2 separate regions of the Homo sapiens genome follow, and region 1 is linked to region 2. The links are contacts of gene promoters, found by promoter capture Hi-C in blood cells and fetal thymus (Javierre and others, 2016). All regions are on one chromosome and are shown on one strand. Each heading gives the region's core, a stretch centred on a gene start or on the middle of the fragment in contact. The rest is flanking DNA. Distances are from core to core; before and after follow the strand shown. Region 1 holds the start of EOGT (EGF domain specific O-linked N-acetylglucosamine transferase). Region 2 has its middle 16 kb from the start of KBTBD8.

What was found. Contacts are between HindIII fragments. The CHiCAGO score rates a contact against its expected background, and 5 or more counts as called.
Region 1: a contact is called between the fragment with the promoter of EOGT here and a fragment that was not itself captured in region 2, in 1 of 17 cell types (erythroblasts). The highest score is 6.1, in erythroblasts.

The regions. Positions count from the first base shown.
Region 1 is chr3:69,010,635-69,017,494 of GRCh38, forward strand. EOGT (EGF domain specific O-linked N-acetylglucosamine transferase) reads right to left here and starts at 3,050. Exons shown (of 18, transcript NM_001278689.2): 1 at 2,940-3,050; 2 at 1,881-2,165; 3 at 1,302-1,357. EOGT-DT (EOGT divergent transcript) reads left to right here and starts at 2,486. Exons shown (of 1, transcript NR_185971.1): 1 at 2,486-6,860. RefSeq lists silencers at 2,368-2,917, 2,978-3,277. The HindIII fragment of the contact is 3,596 bases long and covers 1,328-4,923 here.
Region 2 is chr3:67,011,280-67,018,148 of GRCh38, forward strand. No RefSeq gene overlaps it. Among named protein-coding and RNA genes, the nearest start is that of KBTBD8, 16 kb to the left of the region's middle. The HindIII fragment of the contact is 4,490 bases long and covers 1-3,519 here.

The DNA.
Region 1 (6,860 bases), core at 1,800-4,299, 2.0 Mb after region 2:
GAAAACTATCTGGCACATGCTAAATGCTATGGAAATGTTTATTAAATAAAAGTTTAAAGCCATGTGGGGCAGAGAAGGGGCCTAAATAACATTAAAGCTGAGATCTGAATGATGAGGAGGGGAAAAGTATCTGTGAGAGAGCAAAGGGAGTGGGATGGCTCTGAGCAAGTGTGTGTCTGCTGAATAAAAAATTATAATCATAATCAAGGTATGAGCACAGACAATGTTCCAGGAGCGCTTCTGTACTCAGGATACAGCAATGAAGGTGCAGTCACGAACTAAACTCATTGCCCTTGTGAAGCTTACATGCTAGTAGGTATAATAATCAGCTATAATAGCTAAGACTTAGAAACTCCAGGACACTAAGCAGTCTGCCTCAAAGACTGTGCCCTTAAGCTCTCCCATCATGCCTTTACATTGTGAACAGTGATAATGGTCAGAAACCTCACTGCATTTCTAATTCACCCAGTAAGTGTTAAATCTCTTGGACCAGATTTCTCCTATATATCCCAGACAATGATCCTGCCATTCTCAGGTCACTTTAGTGGGATCTTTGTTCTTTTTTTTTTTTTAAGTGCTCTTTCCACTGGATGACAGAGTCTTAATACACACTGGATGTTCATCAGCTAGGACTGCTGTTTCCTGGGTCATACCGGAAAACCCAACTTTCGAAATCAGTCTTCATTGATTATGGGCTGTGAAGATGGAACCTTTAGAAACAGACTGCAGGCCTGTAATAGTAGCACTTTGGGAGGCCAAGACTGGCAGATTGCTTGAGTCCCTGAGTTCGAGACCAGCTTGGGCAACGTGATGAAACCCGGTCTCTGCTAAGAATACAAAAAATCAGCTGTAGTCCCAGCTGAAGTGGGAGGATCACTTTAGCCTGGGAAGTCAAGGATGCAGTGAGTCGTGATCTCGCCACTGCACTCCAGCCTGGGTAATGCGAGGGAGACTCTGTCTCAAAAAAAAAAAAAAACAAAGAAAGAAAGAAGAAAAGGAAATTGACTGCTATGTTCCATCAAACCTCAAGTTCCAAGGCCATGGAATTCTAAGTGAACAGTGGGGACACCAAAAAGGAATCCTTTTTCCCCCATTTTCCCCCCTTGGAGTAGTTAAGTATTGTGGTTTTTCACTTTGGCGGCCCTCAAGAGTATGGTGTTATCTGCTGTAAATCTGATCTGAATTACAATAACATTTTCACTTGGAGCTTTTATCCAAGAATGAGTTGACAGCAGTTTTATAAAAATTTAAAAACACATATTAATAGTAACAATGACTCTACTTGTAATAAAAATATATACCTCTTGAATCTTCAGAACCACTCAGAAGCTTCTGTGATGTTTCAGGTCTCTAAAACCTGTCAGAAATGAAACATATTACCTTAAAAGGATGCTAAAGTAAACCTGATCATTCAGATGATGTTGTGAATTAAAGGAAATATTAAGAAAGAAAATAATGTAACGTGATAACTCTCAGCCAGAAGGCCTGGCCGGTGGTGCGCTTTCTTTTCCTTAATGAATACCACACTGCTATACTCGAGTTCACAGGCACCACCCCCAACACAGCAACTCGGACCAGATTCCAATGGGGAACGGGAGGAGGTGGCCCACTTTCTACAGGCATCCACTGGAACTGGCCAACAGGATACTTAGTGGATCAAACATTCCCAGAAGCAAACAACTTTCCCATTCTCACAGCAGTAATCCCACTGGCTGAATCACAGGGCTACCCACCTAGAGTGGCGAGCCTGAGGGTTCCCAGGCCTTCCTATTTTTTGACTCGTCCTTCCCGGTAATAAAGTCATTGTTATGACCAAGCCCTGACCTTTGGTTATCCAAGTCCATTGTCCTCCAGTGAGCTCTGGCCATCACTAAACTCACCGATCAGTGGAGAAGTAACGCTTAGGCGATGGAAAAAATCTAAAGACGCAGATCAGAAAGCTGGCGTCTGGCGAGGGCATGTACCCACTTGCATAAGGCGGCTGGGGGTGGCTGCTGGGCCTGGCACAAAGCCTTCCTGGTGTCGGTCGTCCTGCAAGGCCCGCCGGGATGGGTGGCTGCACTCCTCCAGCACACGGACGCTTTACTGGCCAGGCTACTTTTCCTTCAGCTCAAAGCAGCTGGAATCACTCCACTCCAGAAACCCTTGATTCGATTTCCACAGGCCTAATGAGGAAGGAAAAAAGGGAAACATCTGAAAGATGATGGATAGGAGGCAAAACCTGGGGTTGACACAGCGGGCGAAATGGGGCAATGTCGCAGAGAGAGAGAGCTTGGAAAAGTTTAAAGACGGCAGTGGGCAAATGGAAAGTTCAACACGTGAGACCCCGAATGACACCTCAACGGCTGGCCCCTACTTGTGCCAAAAAGTCTCTCGGCGGGTGCCAGGCAGGGCTCAGGAAGTGCTCGGCTGCCCCTTGAACGTCAGTCCCGGCAGAGCCCAGCTGTCCGCTTGAACGTCAGTCCCGGCCAAGGGCTGAGGGGTCAGTGGCGAGCACCCCGCCGCGGCTGAGACGCCGCGCTGGGGTTCCGGACCCCGGGCGCCGCCAGGGATTGCTTCGGGGTCGGTGATCTCCCGGGGCCGCCCGCCACCGTGCACCGCGGCGCCCCGGGTCCCCAGCGCGCCTGGGAGGGGCCCCGGGGAGCGGCTCCGCCCCGGCTGGAAACCTGGTCAACGCGGCTAGGGCCCGGGGCCCGCCTGCGCTCCGGGCGCTGGGAAGGGGCCGGGCGCCCGGGGCCGGGGAGGGCCAGGATCGGCTTCCGACGCCCGCCTCCCGGCCCGCAGGGAATGGGAAGGCGCGGGCGGAGTGCGTGCGTAGGCTATAGCCCTCCGGGAAGCCGCGCCGGGAGCGGCTACCACCCGGGCAAGAACAGCGCAGAGCGCTGCGGCGGCGGGAAGGAGAGCGGGGGAAGGCTCCGCAGATTGCGGGGGAGTCCCACCTGGAGCCGGGGCAGCCGTGAACTACCGAGGAGGAGGCGGAGGAGACGGCGGCTGTTCCAGAGGAGGGAGTCGTCATAACCGGCTACTGCCGCTCACCGGAAACCTCGGGCGCGGGAGCTGGGCCAGGGGGCGCCAAGGAGCAGCTGGGACACCTTGGCCAGCCGGCGCCGTGGGCGGGCTCGGGCCCCGCAGAGGCAGGACCGGGACTACACCCAGGAGGGCCAGGGCGCGGGGCCCGACGCTCGGAGCGGCTTCAGCCCGGCGAGCGGCCTCGACCCGGCGAGCGCAGCAGGGAGGGGCTCAGAGTCGAGGAACCATCTGCCCTTCCTGGCGTTCTCCCGCGAACGTTCGCGCGAGTCCGCCAGCTCCCTCACCAGGGCCGGAAAGACCGACGGCACGTGCCGGCGCCGGACGCCCATCTCCATCGCAGCAGCCCGCGCCTCCTTGAGCGAGAGCGTTAAAGCGCTCAGAGGATGTTAGGACGGGGTGGGTAGAAAACCTGACTCTTCGTGTCTTCTGCGTTGCACTGAGGTGGATTTTTACTTTTGTCTTATTTCAAGCAGAAGTTGCCGCCCTAACTTCCAAATTTGGGGACTGAACATCGTTCACCGAATACACTTTGTGATGGTGAGGATACTTTGGAGTCCACACACATTTTAAAAGCAGTATAGTTTTACCTATCCGTAAACTCATCAAGTTCAAATGCTACTCTGTGGAGTTTAATTTTTATGGTTTTGTTAATTTACTTTATTACTGCTTATAATTATTTGAACTCCCATCCCCCACTGTCTTTTCCTCTAAGCTCCCCCAGGCCTAGTATTCCATCTACAGCACAGTAGAGTTGATCATTAAATAGTGACTAAAGTTGAACTGATTATATGAAGGTGATGACTTCAAAATAAACATGCTCAAATGAATATAGTCACCAGAAGTTAAATAATATGATCATAAGGAAACAAGTTTGTTTCCAAAGGCTTACATGCTTTTTACGTAATTTTTAAAAGTAATGTTGTTTAAGAATTGTTACAAGTTCCATTAGTGACCTGCTAAATTAGGAATCTTACCTGGAATTTTTTTCAAATAATAACAGCAAGAACATGTGGTGTTTAACATGTGCCAAACATTGTTTTAAAGCACTTTACAGTATTAATTTATTCTTTTTATTGAAAAGATTTTGCCTCTAAGGGAACTGTCAAGAGGCATGTGAACCGGAGCAACTCCATCTTAAATAGGAGCTGAGTAAAATGAGGCTGAAACCTACTGGGCTGCATTCCCAGGCCGTTAAAGCATTCTAAGTCGCAGAATGAGATAGGAAGTCGGCACAAGATACAGGTCATAAAGACCTTGTTGATAAAACAGGTTGCAGTAAATAAGCCGGCTAAATCCCACCAAAACCAAGATGGCCATGAAAGAGACCTCTGGTAGTCCTTACTACTATACTCCTATCAGCGCCATGACAGTTTACGAATGCCATGGCAATGTCAGGAAGTTACCCTATATGGTCTTAAAAGGGGAGGCATGAATAATCCACCTGTTTAGCATATCATCAAGAAATAACCATAAAAATGGGCAACCAGCAGCACTCAGGGCTGCTTTGTCTATGGAGTAGCCATTCTTTTCTTCCTTTACTTTCTTTTTTTTTTTCCTTTACTTTCTTAACAAACTTGCTTACACTTTGCCCTGAATTCTTTCTTGCTCGAGATCCAAGAACCCTCTCTTGGGGTCTGGATTGGGACCCCTTTCCTATAACAGAATTACTGCTCTATTATTTTATACTTTGCATACTTCACCATCCCACACTAATGACAGTAATTTTTTAAAATGCTTCCTCAAGCCAGGCACTGTGGCTCATGCCAGTAGTCCCAGCTACTCAGGATGATCGCTTGAGCCCAGTGAGGTTGAGGCTGCAGTGAGCCATGATTGAGACACTGCACTCTAGCCTGGGCCACAGTGAGACCCTGTCTCATAAAAAAAAAAAAAAAAAGCTTCCTCAGCCTACTTGCTACCATCCTATTTTTGTCACATACAAAAAGGTTAAAATCAGTATGACATGTGCATGGTACTATTTTATTTTATTTTTTTTGTAGAAACAGGTTCTTGCTATGTTCCCAGCACTTGTTTCCAACTCCGGGCCTCAAGTGATCTTCCAGCCTCGGCCTCCTAAAGTGCTGGGTTTACAGTTGTGAGCCACCACGCCTGGCTATGTGGTGCTATTTTAAACACCTACATATTGAATGGTCATTCAGACTTACAGGAAACCAGATATGATAAACCTGAACATGAGATTGAGTCTCTCTTACTGTAACAGCCATTCTCAAATAGAATTTCTCTCCAAAATACCAATGTTAGAATTTAAATTTTCTTTGAGCTGACATAAAACTCAAGTGTCTACCAATAGAAGGCTGGTTGAATAAACTATGGTTTATCCATACAATGTAAAACTATGCATGCATAAAAAGGAATTGAGAAATATCTCTGTACACTACAGAATATTGAGTGGGAAAAGGATATGTAATATGTAAATATCATTTTTCTAAGAGGAATATGTGTGTATACATGTGTATACACATATATATTTACTAATTATTATTTTACAAGTAGATTAACATTTAAAATGACTATATGGGCAAGGAGGGAAGAGGAGGGGTATAAGGAACAAAGAAGACATGACTTTGTTTTTTGGTGTGTGTGTGTGTGTGTGTGTGTATGTGTGTGTGTGTGTGTGTGACAGAGTCTTACTCTTTTGCCCAGGCTGGAGTACAATGGTGCAATCTTGGCTCACTGCAACCTCCATCTCCTGGGTTCAAGCAATTCTTCTCCCTCAGACTCCTGAGTAACTGCGATTACAGGCATGCGCCACCATGCCTGACAAATATTTATATTTTTAGTAGAGACGGGGTTTCACTGTATTGGCCAGGCTGGTCTCGAACTCCTGACCTCAAGTGATCCGCCCACCTCAGCCTCCCAAACTGCTTGGATTACAGGCGTGAGCCACCACGCCTGGCGTGAAGACATGACTTTGAAGTCATGTAAATATGTTACATTATAAAGCAAAATTCTGTTTTTAAAAAGCAATCCTTGAAAGTAAAATGAAACTAAATGAACCTAAATGTTTTCCAATTGTGGCATATCACCCAGAGGAGCTATCCCAAGTGACTTTAAAACTTAATTTGTATATACTTAGTGGGATGTATTCTCAGGACTAAAGTACAAAAAAACTCTTTTGTAGACTGCATTCCGTAACCAAATTGTTGGTGGCAATATTGGTATTATGGGATACACCAAGTTGAAGTAATTATGATGGTACCTTTGAAGCTGAAATTTTTGACATGAGATAGAAATATGAAAGCTTAATCAGGCTATATAAACATCCTGTAGTTCTGAATTTCAGTTGGAGGCCTCAGTATGATTAACAGTATGGTTAATCTTTAAAAACACATCTCTCCTACGTGCTCCATTGAAAAGGCCTAGAGACAAGCTACCCAGGAGGAAGAAGCACCCCCTTGCGCTCACACTGTGATCTCTACCAACCATTTCCCATTAAAAGAAACACTGACTCCATAGAACAATGGATGATCTTGGGTCTGGAGCAGGAAATGTACAAGATAAGCCTGCAACATCTTACATCAGGAAGCAGCAAAGCAATCAAAAGGCTATTAGGGTCATATCAAAAGGACTCAGGATCCACCTTGAAAACCTTCCTACTGGCCAAAGATAGGATGATTTAAAACATAAATAAAGGTAACTGTAATTGGATGAAGGACAGATACATTTAAGTAATCATATCAGACACGACCAATCAACCAAACATGCAAGCCAAAAAGGTATCGCTGTTCATTTTTAATGACAGAAGGAAACCAACTCTTATTCTGAAAACTGGTAAACAAAGGGAAAGAATCAGGAATATTTATACTGTCTTT
Region 2 (6,869 bases), core at 25-2,524:
AATACCTTATGTCATGATAGAATGGAATGAGATTTTAATCTATTGAATACCTGTCCTCTGGTAAAAAATGAACTACTTTATGTATATAATACTTTTTAAATTCTAAAGCAAGTTAGTTCACTTATATTGGTAAATTCTTTGTTCTGTTTGTTCTGGCCTAAAATCTTGTTATGTTTGACTCTTTTGTGTTGGTCCACTTTGCATTACCGTAAAGGAATACCTGAGATTGAGGCCTCAGGAGGCTTTAGCTCATGGCAGAGGGTGAAGCGGGAGCAGGAAAGAGAGGGAGCCAGAGAAAGTTGGGGGAGGTTCCTGTCTCTTTAACAATGGGATCTCACATGCGCTCATTACCATAGGGAGGGCACCAAGCCATTGATGAAGAATCCACCCCCATGATCCAAATACCTTCCACTAGGCCCCACTTCTTCCAACACTGGGGATCACATTTCGACATGAGATTTGGAGGGGACAAATGCCCACACTATATAATCTCTTACGTATTTCATGTTTAATTCATCAGAAAGTCCCGTTGCTTCTTCCTTCATAATACATCCAGACTCAGACCACATACCATTTGCACCACTGTCACCCTAGTCTAAGCCAGCTTATCTTATCTGACTTAATGCAGTTTCCACTGACTGGTCTTCCTTCTATCACCCTTGACCCCTCATAACCTATTCTTTTCTCCACACAGTACTCAGAGTGATCCTCTTAAAACACAAGTCAGATCATGTTTCTCTTCTGCTCAGATCCTTCCAATGGCTTCCCATCTCCCTTCATATGACAGCCAAACTCCATACTTACATGATCCACCCCTCTCAAACTTGTTGCCATTTACTTGGCTTGCTCTATTTTAGCCACACTGACCTTGCTTGTTGCTCAAACCTGCTGAGCACCTCCACAGCGACTTTGCCCTTGCTGTCTCTTTTGCTGGATAGATCTTGACAACTCACTCACTTTCTTTTTTATTAAAACATCACCTTACTGGAGAGGCCTTCTCTGATCACATTTTGTAAAATAAGATCATCCAACCCCACCCCCATCATACCTCCTGCTTTATTTTTCTGCTTTATTTTCCATATGTGTCTTCCCCCATTGAAATGTACACTCCACAAAGGCAACGAATTTATTTTAATTCACTGTTGCACTTTAGATTGATGCCTAGCACATAGTAGGCACTCAATGAATGCTTGTGGGAAGAAATGAATTTTCAGTTAAGTCTTGGAGCCTAAAGGATTACCAATTTTATTGGTCTTTTCAAAAAAAAAAAAAACCAGGTTTAGTTCTAATGAATTTTCTCTATTGTTTTGTGTTTTCGGTTTCATTGATTTCTGTTCTAATTTTTATAGTTTTTTTTCTTCTGGTTGCTTTAAGTATTAATAACTCATCTTTCTATTTCTTTTCTTTTTTTTGAGACAGGGCCTTACTCTGCCCAGGCTGGAGTGCAGTGACGCAATCTTGGCTCACTGCAGTCACCTCCACGGCTCAAGAGATCCTCCCACCTCAGCCTCCTGAGTAGCTGGGACTACAGGCGCACGCCACTGTGACCAGCTAATTTTCATTTTTTTTTTTTTTTTTTTTTTTTTTTTTTGTTAATACGGGGTTTCACCATGTTGCCCAAGCTGATCTCAAACTCCTGGGCTCAAGTGTTCTGCCTGCCTCAGTCTTCCAAAGTGCTGGGATTATAGGCATGAGCCACTGTGACTGGCCTTCTTTTCCTAATATATGCATTTAATGCTATAAATTTTCCTTTAAGTATTTCTTTTGTAGAATCCCACAAATTTTATTTAGTATTTTCATTTTCTTAGTACAAAATATTTTTATCATGTCTTCTTGGGGAATATACCCTTTCATAATTATGTAATTGCTTCTCTTTATCCTTGATAATCTTTTTTCTGAAGTCTTCTCTGTTTGAAATTAACATAGCCACTCAAGTTTTCTTTTAATTACTGTTTGCTTCATTTATCTTTCTCCATCCCTTCTCTTTTAACCTATCCTAATCTTTATACTTAAAAGGGCTTTCTTGTAGACAACTTACAGTTGGGACTTATTTTAATATCCATTGTGAGAATACTGGTATGTTTAGACCAGCATTGCATTTAAAGTGAGTACTGATATAGTTGGGTTAATATTTAACATATTGGTTATTGTTTTCTATTTGTTGCCCTTCTTCTTTGTTTCTTTTTTTCACCTATTTTCCTGCTTTCTCTGGTTTTGACTGAGCATTTTATATAGGATTCTATTTTATCTCCTCTTAGCACTTCAATTATACTTTAATTTTTTTTTCAGTGGTTGCATTAGACTTACAATATACATTTCAAAACTAATCTAAGTCCACCTTTAAATAACACTATACTGCTTCGTGTGTAGTGTAGGTATCTTAGAACAAAGTTCCCAATTTTCCCCTCTGATCCCTCATGACATTGCTGTCATTCATTTTAGTTATCCATATGCTATAACCATGCAATACATTGTTATGATTAAAGTCATACTTTTAGATCAATTGATATTTAAAAAATAAGATATTTTACTTCATCTTCACTTATTCCTTCAGTATTCATTTATTTAGGCAGATCTAAGTTTCTGTTCTGTTTCAATTTTCTTCTGCCCAAATAACTTCTTTTATTGGGCATTGCTTGCAAGACAGATCTGCAGGTCATGAATTCCTTCAGATTTTTGTTTGAAAAAGTCTTTATTTCTCATGTTTCAAGGATAATTTTGCTGGATCTAGAATGCTAGGTTAGTGGGTGTTTTGCTTCAACTTTGTAAAGTGAGTAGCTTCTAATTAAATATCAGTGGTTTGGTGGGCCTGTGTCTTGGGGCTGTGATCTTCACAGGTGTTTCTCTAGTGGTACAGCTTTTGGTTTTCCCCTCTCCATCCTCTTTCTGGCTGTGCCATTCCCAATTTTATTTCTTTGAAGCCCTGACCCATGTTGATTAAATCCTTTTTCCTTTAGGTGAGAAGAGAAGGTTAGAGAGGTTTGGGATGGGAGGAATGCTCTTCCCCCTGCTTTTGTTGAACTCTGCCAAAATGTTTTTCCGTGGAGAGTATGCTTTTTAAATGGAAAAGGTTCTGGGTGTATTTCATGATCATTACTCTTCCTGTCCCCTAGTCAGAGCCACTAGGAGGTTTGTCTCAGATCTTTGCCATGAGAACCTGGTAGAGTGCCTGTTGGTAAAATCCACAGAAGCGTAGGGGCCCCAAAAGACTGAAGTTCCCAGGAGTTTTCCACTTTCATGGGAGTCCATGTTCAGCCTCAGCGATTCATCAAAAATGACCATTTAAGTGTTCTTACAGTTTACGGCTCTGGTTACTTCTGGTCAAGGTTAGCAGATCTGGACTGTGACTCTGAATTCACCTCTAATCCAGGGTAACATTTGCCCTGCAGCCTAATTTCTCTGATGGATCTAATAAAAGTCATTGATTGTCAGTTTGAATACCTTTTTCTTCCAAGGTTAGGAATGACAACATCCAGGATCTTTACATTTTCAGTGCTAAATGTGGAATCCCCTATAATAAGCTTCTAATACATATTTTTGATTGAATGATTCTTCAGTTATGCATAAATATCTTATGCCATCTTTTATATGTATAATGTTTTTTAACAATTAAAAAATAAGCTAAAAAGTCTCACTTTTAAAAACCTATATACTTAATCATATTTAGGTATCTTTTATTTATAATTTATACGGCCATGGGATTATTTGACATGTAGTTCAGTGAATGTTGACTCTTGAGTACCTAATAATCCATATTTCTTGCACCAAATTAAAATTATATAAGTTAAAAAAATCAATCATTTTAAGACTTTTTTTCCCAGGCTACTAAAACTAAATAGAAAATTACAATGTAATAATTTTAAATTATCCTTATCATGGATAGACAGAACATTTTCTATTGGCTAGTTTTTTAGAAATGAGATTTAATAGATCCTTTTTCTCCTTTCTTTCCTCTTCCATAAGGATATGCACAATTATATGATTTGGTGAATCAAACACTATAATATTAAGTAAAACGTGGAATATATTTTCTAAATATTTTATATTGGTCTGGTCAACATGAATTATAGTGTTTTCCGTGACCGCAGGTAGATTACTTACCTTTTCTAGCTTTACTTTTTCATGCATAAAACAGGTTAATAATCTACCACGTTATCGAGTTTTTTTGAGGATCAAATAAGCATGTGAAACACTTATCACAGTGCCTTATCACAGCACATAATGAACACTTCCTAAATATTAATTTGTTGAAATTATTAACGACTATTCTGCAGTCTTTTAGATATACTTAACCATTGTAGAACAATATTCCTTAATAGCTAATATAAAGTATATATTAAAGTGTAGCCATTTGGACTCTGATTGTGCTCATAAGCCATGCATGAAAACAATTTTTACAGTTTTACAGTCACACAGTTCTCACTTTCATTTCTGGACTGTGCATTTCTAAAGGACTGAAATTAAACCAATGGTATTTAAAATAATTTAAACAAGGCTTGTAACCTCTGTCTGCAAAATAAAAATAATGCTTTTTGGCTTGTCTATTTTTACAAACTGACAAGGGCCTGTCCTTAGAGTTTATCTTGTTCTCTGTTCCCATTCAGAGATAAGGACCTGTCCTAGTCAGTTCAGGCTGCCATAACAAATTGCCATAGGCTGCATGGCTTAAATAACAAACATCTATTTCTCCCAGTCCCGGAGTCTGGAAGTTTAAGATCAAGGTGCTGGCAGATCCTGTGTCTGGTGAGGGCCCTCTTCTCATCGCATCCTCTCATGGTGAAGAGCAGAGAAAGAGAAAGATAAAGCAAGCTCTCTAGTGTCTTTTTATAAAGGTACTAATCCCAGATCCCTCATGACCTAACCACCCGCAACGGCCCTACCTCCTAATACCATCACATTGGGGGTTAGGATTCCAGCACATGAATTTGGCGGAATTGGCAGAAACATTCAGTTCACAGCAGGATTTAACAGAGTTGCGGTCACATAGTTCAGTTCTTGAAACACATGCTTGCAAAATCCTTTAAGGATAAGAAGATAAGGTCAAAACATCTTATCCCAACACTTAGATTACGATGTCAAGTAGCCAAAGTTAAGTCTTGAGGAGCAAATGCCAACAGGAACCCACACAACGCAGGGGAGTATTTCCTTGTAATCAGTGAGAACCTGAGATAGTAAGAAATCCATGGTGCTCTCTGACAACTGTTCTTAAAGCTCAAGAGCTTGGTCAAGGTTAGCGATGGAACTTAGGAGTCTGGCATATCCACAGAGCTGGTTTTAGTTGAATTTGAGTTAATGGATGAGTTAGTGCAAAGATAAATTGTAAAATGAGAAGCGAAAGTAGCTAAGAATAAAATTTAAGAAATTCAGCTGAAGGAACAGAAGAAAGGCAACTGAAAAGTTATCAGAGAAGAAGGGAGAATCACAAAGGAGTAGTAATGCATGAGAAAACTTCAGGAATGAGATCCAAAGAGAAGAAATGAAATGCAGAGAGTAAGAGGCTCCTGGTCTAGCCATGTGAAGATCTGAAATGAGAAAGTGGTTTTAGCCAAGTGCAAGAGATGAAAACCAATTGCTGTGAATTAAGGTGCAGGTGGAGGATGTGAGTGGGTGTCAGTGGGTGAGAGTGCAGGTGCTTCCCCAGGAAGCCTGCAGGTGAGGAGATTCTGAGACGTGGAGGTGCTGGAGAAATAATATTTTTTTAAAAATCAGAACATTTAGGCCTTTTCAATAAAAATGGGAAATGAGAAATATCCTTGCAAAAAGTCAAAATCTTTTCCATTTCTAGACTATTCCCGGTTGAGAGTTCTGCAGTATACCCGTTAACCCCAAAAGTTAAAGAGATTAGGGATATGCAAAAACATGCAAAGAGGCAGGACTGATGAAAGACAAACCCCTAGAAATAGGAGCAGAGTGAAAAAAGAGAAAATCCTGACCCAGAGAGAGGTAGACACACTTTCTATAGCCTCTTACATTTCTGAAAAAGAATGAAAATAGTAAGAGTTTTTGCAACTTCTTGCTACTTTGCCCCAGAGCCAAATATGGTTCCCACCCCTGACCCAAAACATCTGGTTTGTGATAAGGGCTCAATTATCCTGTGCTTTCTAAAGTATGTGGTGGGTGTGGTGATGGCAGGAGTCAACAGGCAGAAGAATGGATGAGCTAATCAGAGCATGCATACGTGAAAGTAAAGAGGACAAGGGTCCTCTCACTTGGTGTTTGTGTAGCTGGAGATGACAGGGAGATGACACCTATCACTCAGGGGCCTGCCCCAGTGAGTGGGGAGTTTCATGGATCTCACCTCAAGTTGTACAAGTATATGTCCTGGGGCAATTTTGATTCACAATTTATAAAATCATGGTAGGATTTTATAATTTTATTTTATAACTTTACCCTATAGCTGCAGGCAGAAAAAAGAGGAGAGTAATTTTGATATGTGTATATAGGCTTTTTTTTCACTTTATATGAATTGTTTATTCATATCTTTTCCTCATTTTTCCTTTTTAAAATTTCATTTAAGTTCCGGGATACACGAGGTTTTTATATTCATATATAAATGTGATACACAGCAAAATACTTGCATCAGTATCTGTGTATCCTTCTTGAAGGTTTCTAAGAAATTGGTTATAATTTTCTTTTTAATCTACATTTTACTATTCCAAAAATTAAAATGCTATCCACACTTTACTGGGCACTGACCTGTGTGAGGTTGATTTCCATGGTAGCATGAAAAAATATATCTATCCTGTTTTGCATGACAAAACATATCTATCATACTTACATATATGATAACAACGACCCATGTGAAAAATAATATCTATGAGACACTGACTAATATCTTATTCTTGCATATCACTTTCTAGTTTTTGAAA